Regions from separate parts of the Homo sapiens genome. Here region 2 is linked to region 1. Evidence: promoter capture Hi-C in human tissues and cell types (Jung and others, 2019). All regions are on one chromosome and are shown on one strand. Each heading gives the region's core, a stretch centred on a gene start or on the middle of the fragment in contact. The rest is flanking DNA. Distances are from core to core; before and after follow the strand shown.

Region 1 (6,873 bases), core at 1,624-4,123:
AAATCTACGACTATTAAATTTCTGCAAAAAAGAAAAAACAGGAGAAAATCTCTGTGACCCTGGCTAAGCAGAGACTTTACATAGGACACAAAATGCACAAAGATTTCTGCTCTTCAAAAGTCACTGTAAAGAAAATGAAAAGACAAAGCCACAGACTGGGAAAAAAAAATATAATAAAGGGCTTGAATTCAAACACATAAATAAATAATAAGACAAACAATCCAATTTTTAAATAGGCAAAATTTGAACACTTAACATACTACCACATACCTACTAGAATGGCTAAAGTTAAAATAGGACAATATCAAGTGCTAACAAGACTACAGAGCAATTACACCTCTCAGTGTTGCTAGAAGGAATGTAAAATGGTACATCCACTTTGGAAAATGGTTCAGCAGTTTAATATAAATTTAAACACAGACTTACCATACAGCCCAGCAATCCCATGAGTAGATATTTACCTAAGAGAAATATAAACTTATGTTGAACTACCTCACACCCATTAGGATGGCTACTATAAAAATTTTAAAGAAAATAGAAAATAGCAAGTGTTGACAAAGATGTGGGTAAACTGGAACACTTGTTCCAGGTTGGGAATGTAAAATGATGCAGCTGCTGTGGAAAACAGTATGGTAGTTCCTTAAAAAATTAAAAATAGAATTACCATATGATCTAGCAGTTTCTCTTCTGGGTATATGCCCAAAAGAATTGAAAGCAGAGTCTCAAAGAGATATTTGTACACTCATGTTCATAATGGCCTTATTCACAATGGATGTAACCCAATTGTCCATCAGCAGATAAATGGATAAGCAAAATGTAGTATATACAGACTATAGAGTATTATTTAGGCTTAAAAATAAAGAAAAAAGGAAGGAATTCTCACATATGCTACAACATGAATGCACCTTGAGAATATTATGCTAAGTGAAATAAGCCAGTCATAAAAAGACAAATACTGTATGATTCTACTTATATGAGGTACTTAGAGTAGTCAAATTCATAGAGACAGAAAGTAACATTGTGGTTGCTATGAGGAGGAATGAAGAATTGTTGTTGTTGTTGTTTTTGTTGTTGTTTTTGAGATGGGAGTCTCGCTCCGTTGCCCAGGCTGGAGTGCAGTGGCATGATCTTGGCTCACTGCAACCTCTGCCTCCTTGGTACCAGCAATTCTCCTGACTCAGCCTCCTGAGTCACTGGGACTACAGCTGTGTGCCACCACACCCTGCTAATTTTGTATTTTTAGTAGAGACAGGGTTTCACCATGTTGGCTAGGGTGACCTCAAACTCCTGACTTTGTGATCCGCCCGCCTTGACCTCCCAAAGTGTTGGGATTACAGGTGTGAGCCACCACACCCGGCCAGCATTATTGCTTAATGGATATAGTTTCAGTTTTAAAAGATGAAAAGAGCTGTGGAGATGGATGGTGGTGATGGCTGCATAGCATTAGGAATGTAGTTAATACCACTGAACAATACACTTAAAATGCTTAATGATCAATTTTACATTATATGTATTTTACCACAAACAAATTTGAAAAAAAGAAACATGTTGACACAAAAAACCCGTACATAACTAAAAAATAGATTATATTGGATTACATAAAAATGTAAAACTTTGGTGCTACAAATGATACCACTAAGAAAGTGAAAAGACAAGCCACATAATGGGAAAAAAACTTTTGCAAATCAAGTATCTGATAAGGGGCTTGTAACCAGAGCATATAAAGAACTCTTACAACTCAATAATAAAGACAATTTAAAAATGGATAAAGGATTTGAATAGACATTTCTCCAGAGAAGGTACACAAATAGGCAAAAAGCACATGAAAAGATGCCGAACGTCAGGGAAGTGCAAATAAAATCACAAGACACCACTCCACGCTGGGTTACTATACTTAAAAAAAAAAAAATCAACAATAACAAGCATTGGTGAGGATGTGGAGAAATCAGAATCCTCATACATTGCAGTTGGGAAATGGAAATTACCAGTAGGGGAATGAATAAGTAAATAACAGCATATCCATTTGATGGAATTCATTCGACCACTGAAAGCATAGTGAGTGAACGATCTCAACGGTGGGCTGAGCAAAGAGATGCGTGTGGCAGGGCTATGTGCTGTAGATGGGGAGTTGGAAGAATTTGCCCTAAGGTGGGCTGGAAGGGGTGGGTAGTGGGTTGGGGGGAGTGATGCTCTCTTTGATCTGCAGGTGGTGGAAGTATTGATTCTTAGCCTCTGCCTTTCCCCCAAGAGATGCTCAATCTACTATATCCCCAGCCAGTTCTTGCAACCCATACCTTGCTGGGCTGGGCTCAAAGCTCCCAGGTGGCACCCAGGCACTGAGGGGTGGACTGTTCGGGGATTTAGGCCCTTCCAGAGCGCCCCCTCCACTTCCAGGCACCCCCAATACACATACGATTTTTTAAAATAAATATTGCAAACATAGGTTCAACACAAAACTCCTAATGTGCACTCCACTCCCAAAATAGATTGAGAACTCCTATAAATTCCAGCGTTGGCACTCTGGGGGCAACTGAGCCCTTCTGTGCGCTATGTCACCTCCCCAAAGGTCAGGGAGAGCAGTCACAAAAGGACAGCTCTAGCCCCAGAACTTCAGTTCATTAGGCAAAGCCTGAGGTTCCGGGGCATGGGGAGGAGAGAAGGGATCAGCTGAGGAGCCAGGAAACCTGGGTTCTGAGCCTGGTTCGGACCCTCAGCAAGTTATTTCTTCTCTCTGCGCCTCCGTTTCCTCTTCTGTAAAATGGGGCATGGGCAAGGCCTGGCAGGGGCGGGGCTCGAACCCGCGGAAGGCGACGGCGGCTCCGGCCCCTCCCGGGGCGGGCGGTCACGTGCGCGATCACGCGGTCCTACCCGGAAGCGCGCCCGGGCTCCTGCAGGCGGGGCGCTGTGCGCGCCGCGATCCGGTACGTGGGCCTCCGGGCTGTCCCCTCTGGGGGCGGCGATCCTCCCTCCGGAGCCCCCCTTCAACCCTCCCGGAAGTGAGGTAGGGTCCCTAGGGGTCCCGGAGCGGGCCCACTCCTAGCCTCACCCACTCCGGGCGTGTGGCCGTGGGCCGGTCGCTTCCTCGCTCGGGGCCAAAGTTCCTCAGCCGTGAAGAGGGGTGGATGTCACAAGTCAAGCCTCCTTCCCAGGGTGGCCGTGAGGTTCGGGGGTGGGGGGAGGTGGGGATTTGGGGTGAAACTGGACAGAAACTGGCGTGCTAGGCAAACGGGAGCCCCGCGGCGGCGAACTGCTGACTCGCTCTCTCCAGAGACTCAGGGGCAGGGCCGGGCTCCGAAGGTGTGGGACCCCAGAAGGAGCTGCTGAAGACGGGACCAAGGGCCACAGGGAGGTTTGCTGGGGTCCAGATGGTGAAAGTGGGCGCTGGGGGTCGCCCCAGGTTGGCCCCCCGCCATCTGGAGCTCCTTTCGTCAGTGAGTCCCCTCCGAGTTCCCTTTCTAGGGCAAGATAGCGAGGTGAAGCGGAAGTCTCAGTGTGACACCGGCGAGGTTCTCTTCCCAGCAGCCTTTGGGAAGCATCCCCCTGTTTCGGGAATATGGCATTCGGGCCAATCATGTGGGTGATGGAGCCCGTCTCAGGGTTCGGCTGCTAAAGGCCGAACTCGTAACAGCAGTCTCTGTGGCGGGTAGTCACTTGCCTCTTACTGGCTCACAGTGCTTGACTTCCTAATTAAGTTTTCTGTTGTTCCTGCCCTCTATTCAAATATGAATGATTCCGGAACCAGATTGATTAATCCTGTTATTTGAAGAAGGGAAGCTGGGAAATAGGAATAATGATCCCCACACCTATGTAAGAACGCAGTTTGCTAAGGTTACTTTGCAGCTTGCCTGGTCACTCCCATGATCTAACCCTGTAGGGAGGTAGAGTAGGGGATGTTGCTCTGTTTCTCCGCAGGAGTTTGAGGCTCAGAGAGGTTTATGGGACTTGGCAAAGCCAAAACTAGAACCTGGTCCCAGATGCCTTTCCTGTTAGTTTCCTTCCATTCATCGTATCATCCCAGGATCCCCACTCCCTTCACCGGGACTGCATCCTCACCACCTGGGATGTGCTATGCTGTCTCCCGTCAGTCACTCCTAGCAAGCTCCCTGGGGCTGCTTGGGGAGCTCTGAGTGACCCGCAGAAGTGAGAGCACTTCATGGGAACAAAGGAGGAAGGAACAAAAGTGGGCACCTGCTCTGTGCAAAGGGCTGTGCTGGCCGGGTTCCTATTCTCCATTATGGGAGGTGAGGGGCAGGATCCCAGATATGTTCTTAGCAGACTGCCTCAGGGCCTGGAGAGACCAGGGACCACGCAGCCCTTCTCCAGCTTGTCCTTTCTCAACGGGCAGCAGTCAAGACCAGGGCATCTGCCTGCCCTCATATTCTCTCTGTTTTAAGCATTTGCAGGACCAGGGATGCTGTGCTGCTCTCCCATGAGCCAGTCACCGAGTCGGTCTGCTGCAGCCCTTTCTGAACCTCTGGCCGTCTGGATGCTCCACTGTGCTTGCCAAGGTAGATGATCTTGCCCCACCTGGGGAGGACAGGGAGGCAGGCAGCATCCACCCTGGGGCTTTGGGAGGCAGATGGAATGAGGTAGGCAGTGGACTGAGTGCTACTGGGCTCTGCACACCTGCTCATCCCCTCCCCAGCCCTGCATCCTGAGGCCACCCCCATCCTGATGCCTCATCTCTCCTTCACCCCTCGAATCCAGGCAGGTCATCACAGCCTGCTGCATCTTTAAAGCTCCTCCCAGCCCCCACCAAGGGGTGAGCACTCATTACCTGACACCCGCACCTAGATGACCGCCTTCATGACCTTGACCTGCCCATCTCCAGCCAGCCGGTCACTTCTCCGCTCACAACCACAGCCTCCATTCCATAGCCCACTGCTCCCTAACCCATACACTCTGGTCAGCTTTGTCACATGTACCTGGGAGTCCCAGAGCAGCCTCTTCAGGTCCACCCGCCTCTCCCAGCAACCTCCTTTTCACACCTGTTGCACTCTCAGTGTCTGCCTTGGCATTGAGTAATTCTGTGGGAATAGGCTGCATTCCTTCTTCACTGTGCTGTTATGTCTCCTGGCATTTGCCATAAATACCTTGGGACCAGTTGCACCAAGTTAGTTTGGGAGGAATTCAGTAAGGACCACTAAGCTGGACATGGGGATGACGGAACACAAGACCTGGAGATGCTGTGATCCTCCCAAGAAAACTGGAAATCCACTTGTGTGAGAGTTACAGCAGAGCTTCCTAATCATTGTCATGGCTTAGCGCACATACCACATGATTATATCTGCGTGACACCCTGAGGCACATAAGAGGATTTGAAACCACTGCCTGAGGCCTCTTAGCTGCAGCAGCCAGCCTGGAGCACTGTCCTCACCAGCCTGGTCAGGCTGCCCCAAGTTTTAGAAGATCGAGGGTTTGCCGCACGCAGAGGGCCATGGCACACAGTGTGGGAAGCTGTATTAAAGATCTTCCAGTGGGTGAATAGTTAAGACATTTCTTACATAATCAAGCACAGAGTGTGTGGTGTGTGTGTGTGTGGCGGGGGGGTGGGGAAGGAGATTTGGGAGGGCTGAAGACACTGGTGGCTGTGGCCCTAGAAGCTGCAGCCTACTAGGTACAGGGGCTTTAGGCAGCCTCTGTTCTCACCATGAACAGGGAGAGCAGCATTTGAATGAAACTTCTGTGGTGCTGAAGTAAATTCAGGGGCTTTGAGGCTCATCTTCTGGAGCTGTTTTTTGTTTGTTTGTTTGTTTGTTTGTTTGTTTTTTCAGACAGAGTCTCGCTCTGTCACCCAGGCTGGAGTGCAGTGGTGTAATCTCGGCTCACTGCAACCTCTGCCTCCCGGGTTCAAGCAATTCTCCTGCCTCAGCAGTTATCCCGAGTAGCTGGGATAACAGGCACTTGCCACCATGCCTGGCTAATTTTTGTATTTTTAGTAGAGACGGGGTTTCACCATGTTGGCCAGGCTGGTCTCGAACTCCTGACTTCAGGTGATCCACCCCCCTTGGCCTCCCAAAGTGCTGGGATTACAGGCGTGAGCCACCGCGCCCAGCCCTGGAACTGTTTTTATCTGAGGGAGAGATATCTCTGGACTGCCCAGAGATGGAGGTGCACCAGTGCCCTCCGATCCACACCAGGCACTAACTGGCTGCCGTGAGCATGGCCTCCCTGGGCATTCGGCTCCATGTCTAGGCCAAGACCTGGGTCCCTTCCTGTGCCAGTCTGGTTCCAGTAGGCCCCGTGGTGGGTCTGTTGCTGTGCTGAGAGGGACCAGATACCACAGAGGAAAGGGCCCCAGCCTTGGCATCAAACAGGTCTGGGTCCAGATCCCAGCTTTGCCACTTCAGGCTGTGCCTGTGTCCTGCTCTCTAAAATGGGGGTACCTGAAGAGTTCTACTTTGTCCAGTTGTGAGGGTGCAACAAAAATGGAAGTCCCTTGTGATGCCTGGTGTGCAGAAGGGGCTCACTGAATGTTTGCTGAGGTTGGGGTCCTCTTCGTTACTCAGACTGAGCTCATAGATGTTGGGGCTGGAGGCTGACCTTGACCTTGCCTTTCCCTGGCAGATGAAGTGCGTCTTGGTGGCCACTGAGGGCGCAGAGGTCCTCTTCTACTGGACAGATCAGGAGTTTGAAGAGAGTCTCCGGCTGAAGTTCGGGCAGTCAGAGAATGAGGAAGAAGAGGTGAGTGCAGGGTAGGCAGTCCCAGGAGGGGTGGATAGGAAGGAACCATACAAAACTCCCAGCAGGCAGAGAGGCAGGAAAACCTGTGTTCACCCTGTCCTGGGCAGCATGAGCAGGGTGCTGGGTGGGGTCCAGCATCCTTCACACCTAGACCCTTATCCTCAAGGTTGGCCTCTTGATGCTCTGAGC
Region 2 (6,873 bases), core at 1,122-3,621, 260 kb after region 1:
ACTAAAAGGCATGCAAGAAACAGAATCACTAGTAAAAAGCAGAATGAGAAGTCAAACAGTTCTGTTCAAACTGCCAAACTGCGCCATGTATAAGGTGATGCCTCAAGGCCTTCTTCATTGTGAAATGCTGTCCTCACCCCATATGCAATGCACAGCTGTACTACAACCTCCAGATCACTATTTTTTGTTTTAGTAGAGTACCTGATTTTTATTGTTTCTTTCTCTTCACCATCTGTCACTTATTGCTACTCTAGGCATTTCTATTTCTCTCAACCTAAAGGGCAATGCAAATTCCAGAGTGTCCAAATTACATACAAAGTAACAATAAAAGCCCTCTAAGTAAGGATCTGAGGTGCTTCCTAATTGAGCAAAATATATGAACTTCAATACATGAACTTTATATTTATTTTGGCCACTTATCAGATCTTATTTGCTCACCTGACAACTCACTTGACTATTTTATGTTCAAAATAGTAACATTTCATTTGATTCTCCCAACAACCCTATGAAGTAGAATTATTACTAGTCCAATTCTACCAATGATAAAACCGAGGCAACAAGGGTGTTAAATTGTGTCCACCAAGGCCAAAGGACTAGAATATGGCAGAGGATTATCTAGATCCTAATCTAGATACTCTGAGACCAATGTCTGTGCTCATAAATGCCTATGGCAATATGACTATATCAGTGTGGTTAGTACTCCCCACTTAAATATCTTTAACAATCTTATAGGAAAAAATACATAAATAACTATATCAATTACTTAATGTTAGGAGATGAGAAGCCCCAATTGCCTTCTTTAACCTCTCCAAAAGCTACTCTGAAAGACATAACTGAGGCACAGAAATGAAAAGCCAAAGGAACACCAGTTCAACAAAGCTGATAAGGAAGTTTTCTACAGTCTAGCCTTATTTAGCATTACACTGAGCCTATCCTATAATGGATCCAAACACAGGAGTCTCCATTGCCATTTGAAGACTTACTTGTCAAGGATGACTTAGGGCTGTTCCTTTTGAGATGTAGTTCTAAATGATCTCTGAATGCCTACTGAATACTTGTATATTTTAGCTTTCAATAAATATTCCTTGAGTAAATGCGGGCTGGGTATTCTGCGCTCTCTACTGCCATACCAAACTGTAAGCTTGTCTGACTAACAATCATACCTACAACTCCTTGAAAGCAAGAAATACCTTATCATTTTTAGTTTCTCAATACCCAGCACCATTCCTGGCACATACAGCATTCAATAAGATGTTTGTTAAATAAATGAGCACAAAAGCAAATGTGCCTGGCACAAAGCAGTATCAATTCAGATGTTTCTCCTTAATTTGAGATTGTGTGTGTGTGTGTGTAAAAGGTATGTGTATTCTTGAACAACATTAAGAATTCCTTTGGCCAAGTATAATGGGTCCTGCCTATAACCCCAGGACTTCTGGGAGGCCAAGATGGGAGGATCACTTAAGTCCAGGAGTTCGAGACCAGCCTAGGCAACATAGCGAGACTCTATATGTACAAAAAAAAATTGTTTTTTAATTAGCTGGGCATGGTGGTGCACATCTGTAGCCCTACCTACTTAGGAGGCTGAGGTAGGAGGATCACCTAAGCCCAGGAGTTTGAGGTTACAGTGAACTAAGACCAGACCAATGCACTCCATCCTGGAGAACAGAACAAGACCTTATCTCTTAAAAAAAAAAAAAAAAAAAAAAGAATTGTTACATCTTATCTGTTTGACTCAACTCACTAGCTATTTTCCTACTAAAGCAAACCTTTCTCAATTTGTATATATGATACATATCTATTTATAGAAAGAGACCTTATGTGCAAACTAATGATAACAGCAAAATTAAACCGGAGCCAGACTTAAGCTCCCCATCCAAAAAACCTACTTCATTCTTGTAAACCATAATTTCCTGCCACCATCAAAGAATTGATACTCTGTATTTTTACATTACTAGCCCTTTTTACAGATGGGAAATATGTAAACATAATCCAATTATGAGAAATGATTAAGAGACCTATGATTATGACTGTTTCTTAGATTATAAAAACCTTACATGGCTGATATGCCCTAATGTGAAAATCTGCAATCCAAAATGCTCCAAAGTCCAAAACATTCTGAGCACCGACATGACACTCAAAGGAAATGAACACTGGAGCATTTCAGATTTCAGATTTTCAGGTTAGGGATTCTCAACTGTTAAATATAATGCAAATATTCAAAAAAAAAAATCAAAATCAAAAACACTTCTGGTCCCAAGCAGTCCAGATAAGGGCTACTCAATCTGTAGTATGTTGGATTTAACAAACTGTACATGGCAATATAATTTAAACTTGTACCCTACCAAATAAGTCAATGAATGAAGCACTGGGTTAAGTGCTTGTATACATCATCTCACTTAACCTTTGTAACAACTCTTCAAGGTGTATATAATTATTATCACCATTTTACAGACAAATAAATGAAGACTCAAGGTTGTACATCTGTACTTACTAAGTACAGAAACCAGAATGCACACCCAGCTTTGACTAATACCTGAGCTATTTAGCTACTCACAACTCTATCCCACAGTACACCCCCAAAAAAGCAAAAAATTTCTAAATCATGACTGCCTAACTCTAACATTGTAATAATACACCATACTTGCTTTTAACTACATCATTCTGAGAAGGAAAACTGATGGCCTTCATAAGCTTCACGCCTACTTTCCCACCTTAAGCACTGAAATCTTGAATCATATGAGAGCTGTTTATCACTAACATCCTTTTTCTGAAAACTATACTTTGCCCCTCCACTGCCATGAAAAACATTATTGGCACCCACAGCAATGTTGTGTATAAAACTTGTCACAACTGTTAGTGGCAATGGTCACTACCTTAGGTGACTCTGGAGTCTCAGAAGACTTGAACACTCTAATGTAAGTTCTAAAGGTTTATGTAAGATCCACCACACCAAATGCTGAGTAAAACCATCTGGAAAAAACAAGGAAATTATATGATTAAATATAGTTAAATGTCTCTCTACATGGAACAGCTATTTGAGAAGATCAATTGTATGCTATTTTTGTTCCAAAAGAGCAAGGTTTGCAGATTTTTTGTTTATATACCAATAAGCCAAACATCAAAACCGAAGGAACCAAACTGTCCTGTTTTTCTCAACACTCAAAGACAATCAGGCAAGAGAAGTTCATTTACCATGACTTACATATTACTTAGATATTTTTTCCTTTTCTCTTTTTCTGACTTACCTCCACGGCCTCAATGAATTTTGGGCCATACATAAACGATAATTATGAAAGTAAACCAAGGGTCCTTTCTTCTACTCTCCCTCTGGAAAGAAGGAAGGAAACTTGGAGGTTCTACAGAAACATACCAAGATTTTTACTGGATACATCCCAAGTCTTCCCTCTTCCTCACTCTCTGTATTCAACCAATGGAAAAGTTCCACTGATCTTCACATTTGAGTATCTCTTTAATTTGCCTGGTTGTCCCTATCTCTAATGCTACTACTCCAAGTTAAAACAACACATACAAATGCCTGGATTACTGAGGTAACCTATCTAACTAGTCTTGGTAACTGCTTTGCTTCTTTGCATTCACTCTTCACCTTCCATCCAAAATGACTTTTTCAAAACCATTAGCTAGTCAGATGTCACCCTCCCTAAAGTCTTTCAATGACTTGCCACTGTTTTCATGATAAAATCAACTTAACATGGCTTAGAAGACTCTTCTTTCTAACCTGGCTCCAACCAATTTCTCCAGTCTTACCTTCTGTCACTTCTGTCTTCATATGCTTTATAGCCACATGGCTCTTCTTTCAGATTCTCAAACTCTTCATGTTGGTTCTGTGGGTTTGTTTGTTTTCCATCTTAGCTACTGGATAATCTCTTCCTTCTACCTACTCTACTTCCCTACAGCCTCCCAGCCATCTTTAACCTAATTCCTACATAATCTTTAGGTCTGCATCACAGTTCTTTCTCTGAGAAGCCTTACCTAATCATTCTAGATAAGACTGGGTGCCTCCTTCCATATACATCTCCTACTACAGCTCTTATCATTACTTTAGTATAATTACCTCTTTAATTATCCGGTCTTCCCCATTAAACTATATGCTCATTAGAGAAAGTATTATTAAGGGTACTTGCTCATCCCTATATCCCCCAACACTGAGCACAGGGCCTAGACACATAGCACAGACTTGACTTTTTTATATTGAATAAATGAACAAACAAAAATACAAATTTGGAGGAAAAAACTGAAAGGAACAGATTTAAAAGATACTTTAACCATCAAAAATCCCGTATCAATAGACATCCTCAATAAAGAAATGGGACTTCTAGGTGCTGCTTAGGATGAAGAAAGTTAGAAAGTCATTTTCACCATTAAAACAAAGTAAAAGATGGATGTTGTGCAAAATCACAAATTTTCTTGAACCCAGCACAAAAGTAAGGTAACCTTAAATCTAAGTAATTGATCTAAAATCTAAGGAAAGACAGGATTTTAAAGGGAGAGATGGGACATGAGCACTACTTTACCTATAGTAAACACCAGACACCATACAAGCCAATAAGAACTTGGTTAAAAAATTTTGTAATTACTACAAGCCAAATGTGGACCTGCAGCTAGGGGAAGCAAACAAAATCTACCCTGCTTAAAGAAGGGGCAAGATCTCTGAAAAAGCCCCATACTTGAGACCCAGAGAAAATGGAAACACCTAGCTAAAATGGAGACTGGAAAAATCCAACACAAAATGTCCTCCCCATCTCCCATCAAATGCAGGCTAGCAAGCCTCAAACAACATGTAACAGCAATGTACTACAGTCATGTGTCACGTAATGACAGGAATATGGTCTAAGAAATGCATTGTCAGGTGATTTCATTGTGAGAACATGACAGAGTATACTTACACAGACAAAGACAGTATAGCCTGTTACACACCTAGGCTATACAGTATGGTATATTATTGGTCTTAGGCTACAAACCTGTACAGCATGTTACTGTACTGAATACTGTAGGCAACTGTAACACAATGGTAAGTATTTTGTTTATCTAAACATAGAAAGGTACAGTTAAAATATGGTATTATAATCTTAGGGGACCATCATCATATATGCAGTCTGCTGTTGACCAAAACATTGTTATGTGGCGCATGACTGTTTGTGAGCAAAGAGCTAAAGCATGGAGAAATACCTTCTCTGAGATGCAAGTTCAAAGGGAAGACCTAAAGCTGAGGGTAGACATTAAGAAAAACTCTCTGACAAACTAAATCCTACCCTAAACACAAAGTAATGCTAGAGAAACTTTAAGCCTGTGGTAAATTAAAGGTAACCTAGCAATAACAAAACCCTCAACATTCCTCCCCACCACACACACACACACACGTCTCAGGAAAAGACAAAGCATGTCCATTTCCAGGCATAAATACCATTTAACTGGCTCTCTACACAAAATGTCCAGATTTCAACCAAAAAAAAAAAAAAACCGAAAAAGGAGCAAAGAAAAAAAAACAAAACAATAGAACCAGATTCGGATACAACCATCATATTAGAACTATCAAACACGGAATTTATACGTTAAATGCTCTAACGAAAAATGTAGATAATATGCATACGCAGATGTGTAATTTAAGCAGAGGGATGGAAACGGTAAGAAGAAATCAAACGGAAATGCTAGAAATAAAAATATAGTAACAGAGATGAAAGCTTTCAACAACCTTATCAGAAGACCAAGACAGTCTCAGAATCAGTAAAGACATCAACAGAAACTACTCCCACAAAACATGACAAGAGAATGAAAAACAGAGAAGAGAACATCCAAGTGCTATGGGACAATATCAAATACTCTAACATATGTGTAACTGGAATTCCAGAAAGAGAGACAATAAGACAGAAACAAAATATGAAGAGATAATAACCAAAATTTTTCAAAATTAATACAAAAGAATCCAAAAAGCTCAGAGAACACTAGGCAGCATCAAATAAACAAACAACAACAACAACAACAACAAAAATCCACAATTAGACACATTATATTCAAACTGATGGTGGAAAAAATCAAAGATAAAGAGAAAACCTTGAAGGCTGCCAGAGTTTAAAAAAAAAAAAAAAAGACACAATACAGTGGAACAGGATAAGAACTTTCAGAAATTTTGAAAGTCAGACACCACTAAAGTGCTGAAAGAAAAAACTGTCAATGCAGAAATCTATATCCATGAAAATATATTTCAAATTGAAGAAGAAATAAAAAATGTTCAGCCTTGTGGTCCATTCCAAGACGGCCGAATAGGAACAGCTCCAGTCTGCTGCTCCCAGTGTGACTGACACAGAAAACGGGTAATTTCTGCATTTCCAACTGAGGTACCTGGTTCATCTCATTGGGACTGGTTGGACAGTGGGTGCAGCCGACAGAGGGTGAGCTGAAGCAGGGTGGGGCATCACCTTACCCAGGAAGCGCAAGCGGTCAGGGGATTTCCCTTTCCTAGCCAAGGGAAGCCATGACAGACTATACAAGGAGAATCGGGACACTGCCACCCAAATACCGCACTTTTCTAATGGTCTTAGCAAACGGCACACCAGGAGATTATATCCCTTGACTGGCTCAGCAAGTCCCACAACCACGGAGCCTTGCTCACCACTAGTACAGCAGTCCAAGATCGAACTGCGAGGCAGCAGCCTGGCTCAGGGAGGGGCGTCCACCATTGCCGAGGCTTGAGGAGGTAAACAAAGCGGCCGGGAAGTTCAAACTGGGTAGAGCCCACCGCAGCTCAATGAGGCCTGCAGGCCTCTGTAGACTCCACCTCTGGGGGCAGGGCATAGCTGAACAAAAGTCAGCAGAAACTTCTGCAGACTTAACGTTCCTGTCTGACAGCTCTGAAGA

What was found. The method cuts DNA at HindIII sites, captures the fragments that hold promoters and counts their contacts. A contact is called where the count stands out against the background at its distance.
Region 2: a contact is called between a fragment that was not itself captured here and the fragment with the promoter of HPS1 in region 1, in 1 of the 25 tissues and cell types used here (aorta).

Annotation. Positions count from the first base shown.
Region 1 is chr10:98,442,935-98,449,807 of GRCh38, reverse strand. It overlaps HPS1 (HPS1 biogenesis of lysosomal organelles complex 3 subunit 1), which reads left to right and starts at 2,873. Exons shown (of 20, transcript NM_000195.5): 1 at 2,873-3,001; 2 at 4,404-4,508; 3 at 6,568-6,684. The coding sequence starts at 6,568. HPS1-AS1 (HPS1 antisense RNA 1) reads right to left here and starts at 3,487. Exons shown (of 3, transcript NR_134454.1): 1 at 3,051-3,487. RefSeq lists a silencer at 2,706-3,055. The HindIII fragment of the contact is 14,922 bases long and covers 1-6,873 here.
Region 2 is chr10:98,182,564-98,189,436 of GRCh38, reverse strand. The region is part of intron 4 of R3HCC1L (R3H domain and coiled-coil containing 1 like); the gene reads right to left. Among named protein-coding and RNA genes, the nearest start is that of R3HCC1L, 51 kb to the right of the region's middle. The HindIII fragment of the contact is 3,649 bases long and covers 547-4,195 here.